Linked DNA regions of Homo sapiens: region 1 is linked to region 2. Evidence: promoter capture Hi-C in 16 types of primary human blood cells and fetal thymus (Javierre and others, 2016). All regions are on one chromosome and are shown on one strand. Each heading gives the region's core, a stretch centred on a gene start or on the middle of the fragment in contact. The rest is flanking DNA. Distances are from core to core; before and after follow the strand shown. Region 1 holds the start of GMPPA (GDP-mannose pyrophosphorylase A). Region 2 holds the start of SMARCAL1 (SNF2 related chromatin remodeling annealing helicase 1).

What was found. Contacts are between HindIII fragments. The CHiCAGO score rates a contact against its expected background, and 5 or more counts as called.
Region 1: a contact is called between the fragment with the promoter of GMPPA here and the fragment with the promoter of SMARCAL1 in region 2, in 1 of 17 cell types (neutrophils). The highest score is 8.0, in neutrophils.

What each region holds. Positions count from the first base shown.
Region 1 is chr2:219,497,433-219,500,331 of GRCh38, reverse strand. GMPPA (GDP-mannose pyrophosphorylase A) reads right to left here and starts at 1,441. Exons shown (of 13, transcript NM_013335.4): 1 at 1,394-1,441; 2 at 317-376; 3 at 114-211. The coding sequence starts at 356. It overlaps SPEGNB (SPEG neighbor), which reads right to left. Exons shown (of 5, transcript NM_001286811.2): 4 at 2,471-2,612; 5 at 2,045-2,281. The coding sequence ends at 2,143. All of the region lies in intron 1 of ASIC4-AS1 (ASIC4 antisense RNA 1), which reads left to right. RefSeq lists enhancers at 1,372-1,561, 1,566-2,383, 2,384-2,899 and a silencer at 2,392-2,471. The HindIII fragment of the contact is 29,233 bases long and covers 1-2,899 here.
Region 2 is chr2:216,410,867-216,413,893 of GRCh38, reverse strand. It overlaps SMARCAL1 (SNF2 related chromatin remodeling annealing helicase 1), which reads right to left and starts at 1,410. Exons shown (of 18, transcript NM_014140.4): 1 at 1,246-1,410; 2 at 2-38. SMARCAL1-AS1 (SMARCAL1 antisense RNA 1) reads left to right here and starts at 1,394. Exons shown (of 5, transcript XR_001739881.1): 1 at 1,394-1,469. RefSeq lists enhancers at 1,301-1,390, 1,521-1,610, 1,354-1,648. The HindIII fragment of the contact is 8,553 bases long and covers 1-3,027 here.

The sequences.
Region 1 (2,899 bases), core at 192-2,691, 3.1 Mb before region 2:
GAATGATGGTCCTTGGAGTTATGCCTGGTGGGAAGAGTTCATGGTTGGGAAAGGGGGAAACAGCATGAAGATAAGCAGGAAGTGAGGTGAGAGAGGGGAGCCCCTGAGGTTACCTGGGCACAGGCTTCAATATGGTGTTGGATCATAGGGACCCCTGCCACAGGAAACAATGGTTTGGGCACCTCAAAAGACAAAGGTCTGAAGCGAGTTCCTGGGAGAGGAGAGAGGAGAACATTTCGGCCTCCTGCCTTCCTCTGCCCCCATCCCGCCTACCACTCCAGCCCAACCTCCTCCCCCCATTCCCCTGGCACCTCACCCTTTTGAGGGCCTCCAATCAGGATCACCGCTTTGAGCATAATGGTGACTGCTACCTAAACTTCAAATTCCAACAGAGAAATCAAGCTCAGATCTCCTACCCCAACCAAGCCCCAAAACCCAAATAGCAACACTTAGCCCTCTCCCAAGATGTAAACCCAAAGCTCAATATAGTCTCTGCCTGGACCCAACACCTCACAAATCCCACACATCTCAAATCCCAGCAGAGAAATCAAGCTCAGATCTCACACCCCAACCAAACCCCAAACCCCAAATAGCAGCACTTAGCCCTCCCCCAAGATGTAAACCCAAAGCTCAATATAGTCCCTGCCTGGACAGAACCTCACAAATCCCACACATCTCAAATCCCAACCCAGATTCCAGTCGGCCTTCAAACCTCACAGTGATTCCTCCCAAATTCTGAAATTCACACCCCACAATTTGATCTCTAAAAGACTTCCCTCTGGCCATGAACAAATTCTGCAAATTCAGAAACCTGGCAGAGACTCCCTTCTCAGACCCAAACCTCAAAATACTGAAGCCTCAAATTCCCAAAGTGTTGCGTCTTCATTCTAGATATTAAGCCCTGAACCCCAATAGTGAACCCTGAATATTGGACAGCAAACCCTGAGTGAGCCTCAGATATTTAACTTAAATCCTGAACGTAATCCCCAAGTACTGAACTAACACTGATCTGAATTTGAAGAACCCCTAATCCCAGCAAAAATCCTCTATATGCTAAACATGAATCCTAAAACTAACCTCTGTATGTTGAACCCCAAATCAAAAGACAGGTTCCCTTGGCATCTCAAACACTGAACCTATTGACCCCCCTCCAGTCCTAATACGGACGACTGGGTCTAAATCTCTGGATTCGGAGGATTGATTGATTGCTGACCCTCTGAACCCCACAACTGACTCTGTCCAATAAACCCTGGCCTCTCATTGCCAGGGATTGTGGGACCAACACAGGGGCGGGCGCACCGAGGGCCAGCCAGGACCTCGGAGCCCGCTCTCCGTCTAGAGGGTGTCCCCTGCCCCTTACCCCTGCCGCCACCCCTCCACCAGCTCCCTTTACCACTAGCTCCCTTCACTCCAGCTCTGCCGCCCGCTACTGCAAGCTCCTTCCGCGCACGTGTCTTCTCGCAAGTCGCGAGAACTCATTCGCAGGGTCTGCCGGGAATTGTAGTCTGACCCTTTACCCGCTTTCTAACTTTATGGGAGAGGAAAGAGGTGCTGAAGTCCAGGGGTGTGACCAAGGGATCGCGGGGCGGGGTTAAATGCGAAGAAGGGTGGGGCCTGAGAAGCCCAGCCTGGAACTTAAGACTGGGACCCGAGCTGTTGGGGAATCGGCCTCGGGGCAGCAGCCGAAGTGAGGAACTGGGTCCCACAGGAAAACGGGACTAAGGACAGCAGGGGTGTGTGGCCAGCCCTGGAAGGGGCGGGGCCAGGGGCAAACAGCCACAAGGGGCTGGGGCTGGAGGCGCTCAAAAGCGGAGAAGGCGGAGTCCCAGGCCCAGCCGGCGGTACCGCTGGGAAGTGAGGGCGCCTTGGACGGCGAGGGCAACTCTTATCAGTTTGACTGTCTGAAATGCAGCACGGCGCTAGGCGCTCTCCAGACCTCCCTGTGACTCCAACAGGCTGTGACCTTGGCGTGGGGGTCTGGAATACGTGTGGGCGCTGGTGCGGGGGAGAGGGAATGGCGACGCGGAAGAGCAGGACAGACGCGGAGGGTCAGAGAGCAGCTTTATTAAGCAAGCTGGTGGAGGGCTGTGGGTCCCACCACCCCCGGGCTCGGCGCCAGGGCGGAAGGTCCGGGGGTGCCGTTCAGGCCACGTCGACGCGAGCGAAGCTCTGGTCCATGCCCAGGCTGTTCTCCACGTACACCTCGTACTTGCCGCTGTCCTGAGGCGTGGCCCGGCGAATGGTCAGCGTCGTGGTGGTGCTGCCGATCTCGAAGAACACCCTGCGGAAGGGCGGCGGGGAGGAGGGCGGAGCCGTGGTCAGTACACGGGCGCACTGGGCGGGGCTCCTTAGCCAGCTCTGTTCCTCGCTGCCCAGTCCCCGCCCCCGTCACTCCAGCCAGATTTCTGGGCTCAGTCCCACCCAGGTTCCAGCCCCAGGCCCTGGCCGTGCCGCAGGTCCCGGCCCTCGCCTGTCATCCTCCTCGATGTCCTCCCCGTCCTTGGTCCAGCCTACGTCGGGCGCAGGCTCTCCCAGGATCTCCGCAGTCAGCGTCACGGTGGTGCCTTTGCGCGCCTTAGTGTTGTCGGGTCCCTTTTGAATCTTCGTCGGGACTAGCGGAAGGAAAGGGGAGCGAAACCCCGTGAAGGACCCGGAGATGAGGCAGGGCATCACCTCACCGGCTAATACCCGGCACTAAATACAGATGCATTTAAACTCGCAGTGTGACGTTGAGCAAATCATTAGCCTCTCTGGTTTCATCTCCTTGGCTGTTAAAGGGACTTATCCCTGCCTCTCCTACTTCTCGGGGTCGAATAGAGGATCAAGAGAGATAAGGCGGGCGAAAGCCCCTGAATGTTCACACATCTCGCGGTGCCTCAGAGACCGCTCCGGGTAGTGG
Region 2 (3,027 bases), core at 161-2,660:
CCATGGCGTGACACTTGCTAACATAGTCTTTTTCCAACCTAGAAGAAGGAAAAAAGCATTAGCCTCCCATAGCCTGCACACTGAATTCTCCCCTCACATTCACCCCTTTTTATCATTCCTGGCAAATCAGTCTGCCTGTGGCTCAGTGCAAGCCAGAGCAGCTGGCCTTAGGACCTGACTTCCAACACAACACACGGAGCAACTGACTGACTCTCCTGGGAAAATAAGGAGCAGAAAAAAAAAAATTATGTGTTCACTGTGCAAATTAAGATGCTACATAAAGATGTAAACAAAAAAGAATAAAATTACTCTGTAATCTTACCAGCCATCAATAACCACAGTTGAAATTAATAATTTAGAGTATATAGTTCGGATTTTTTTTCATCCATAACAAAATGGCACATATTTAGGAGATATAAGAATTTATTATAAAGTAGGATCATTGTAAACATTCCATATTGCACCCTGATTATTTTTTTCCATGAATTTACCCGGAACATTTATTTTCCTATGAGCTGAGACATGTTTACAATATTTTAGAAGCAGCGGGCAGGACACACCAATTTGTCTGGCTTGGTTCAGACTAAATAGGCTGCATCTAATGTAATGCTGTGTAACGGTTACAATGATGATGTAGGGGTACTCCAGTAGCATTGCTTAGGCCTCTGGGCAGCTATAGGGTTCAAAGCCTTCCTTCCCTGCTGGGGCTCCCTTTGGCCAGAACCCAACCCCCCTCCCCCCTCCCCCACCACGAAGTATCTATCCCCAGAGAACTTCCACCTTCTCCAACCATTAGCAGTTAGGAAGGGGTGAAGAGGTTAGGAAAAGGTTTTGGAGGTGCACAGCAGAAGCCCTCAGTCTCTCTGGGTAACACACTCCTGCCTAAGTTTCCAACCAGGGATCTCCTGCACCTCCAAACTCCCCAGATCCCAGGCCTGGTAAGCTGTCTCCACTAACCAGAGAGACTCGGCCATAAGACCCACTGATCAGCCCCAAACCATAAATCCATTCCGCCACATGGACGCCCCTCTTCCCCTCTAGGCAGGGACCTCTGCCCCCCGCCCCCCACGCCCCGCATTTCGGGGCGAGCCTCACCCAGCCTCAAGGTAAGCGGGCGCCACGCCCCACTCCCACCCCTACGATCTCCACTTGGATTCACCCTTCCCATTGGCCCACTTCCTCCTCCAGGCTGGCATTGGTCTCGTCCGCCTCCGCCGCCTTCCTGCCAGTCTACCACTTTCTCACCCAGGGAGGCCTAGAACGCGAGCCACATTCGCCCCCGGCCCTGACCCCAGGCGCGACTGCAGAGCCTCCCGAGCGGGACCGGTCTTCCGAGTGGACGGTTAGGCCACGGGTATTCAAGCGCTGCGAGTTCGCCAGCCTTATTGTAGCGGCCAGGCCTGAAGGGCTAGGCCACCGCTGAACTACATTTCCCAGCAGGCAACGCGGCCGCAGTTTCGCTTCCAAAAGTAAGAATGATGAGACGAGAACGCGAGCGGGGCTGCAGTGTCTTCTGGGATTTGTAGTTCGGGCCGGGAGCCTGGCGAGAAACGGGAGCTGCAACGTCATGGGCGGGGCGAAAGTGGTGCACCCTGGAAGTTGTAGTTCTCCAGAGGTTTAGCCAAACACTAGGTCCTGAAAGCCTAGGACGTTGAGGTTTCCAAACCCGGAGTCGGCTGTCTCCAGAGGACATCCCAGACAGCCATACTAACTTGGCAGCTCTTAATAAAAAGTATCTCCCCGGGGCATCCATTCCTGGTATTGCTATACTTGCCATTTAAGCCCCACCCGCTGCGCCCGGCTGCCATCATCGTCATCATTGTAGTCATCAGTCATTGTGTTTAGCATAAATATGAGTTACCTCATTTAACCGCACTACAACCTATGGAACACATTCTTGTCCCCCTTTTACAGAGGGGGAAACTAAGACAGCTATTTGATAATATTTCTCAAGGCTTTATTAAGCTAGCTTGTGATTCTGATTCCATAGCCCCTCCTCTTGAGAGAAGATTAGTCATGAGACTTAAAGAGTCACTTTACCCCATCCTGAGCACCAACATCCTGAGCCATCCTGAGCACCATTGGTGATAAATATAACATTTCTCTATCAGTGTGCATATGAATGTTGCTATTGTTCTATTTTCAAACATGGCTCATTTAAAAACAAACAAGTCTACTAAAGGATTTGAAAAAATGGACCAGACATGCTAAGAAAAAGGAAGCACAGCAATGTGTGTAGTTTGATTTTTTTTTTTTTCATCCTTACCTGTACATGTATGTAAACTCATAAAGGTCTGGGAAGGAAACTTAAAAAGTCACCAAACTGTTCAGGAGCAGAGTGGCATGAAATACACTTTTCAGCTTTTTAATCTCTATTTTTCAGAATGATTTGAATTTTCTAAAATAATAATGTAGAATTTGTGTGACTTTTGAAACAATAAATAATCTCCCTTCTTCCTTCCTTCCTTTTTTTTTTTTTTTTTTTTTTTTTTTTTTTTTTTGAGACAGAGTCTCACTCTGTTGCCTAGACTGAGTGTGGTGGTGTAATCTTGGCTCACTTCAGCCTCTGACTCCTGGGTTCAAATGATTCTCCTGCCTCAGCCTCCCAAATAGCTGGGATTATGGGTGCATGCCGCCATGCCTGGCTGATTTTAGTAATTTTAGTAGAGACAGAGTTTTACCATGTTGGCCAGGCTGGTCTCAAACTCCTGACCTCAAGTGATCCACCTGCCTCAGCCTCCCAAAGTGCTGGGATTACAGGTGTGAGCCACTGCGCCCAGCCCATTTGTCTTAAATGACAAAGACATTGCCTGTCTTAGGGGATCTGTGTGAGGTTTAGTAGTAGAAAGTATTCAAATCTCAGCTCTACCCCTTTTATTGACCTGACATACCCAGTGATTGTGCCTCCATTTTCTCATCTGTAAAGTAAATGTAGAAAACAATACCACCTTGGTAAATCTTGTTATTAGAATCAAAGCAAGGTATTATGAGGGGAAGTGCTTAGTGAACTGTGAAATCCCAGAACAG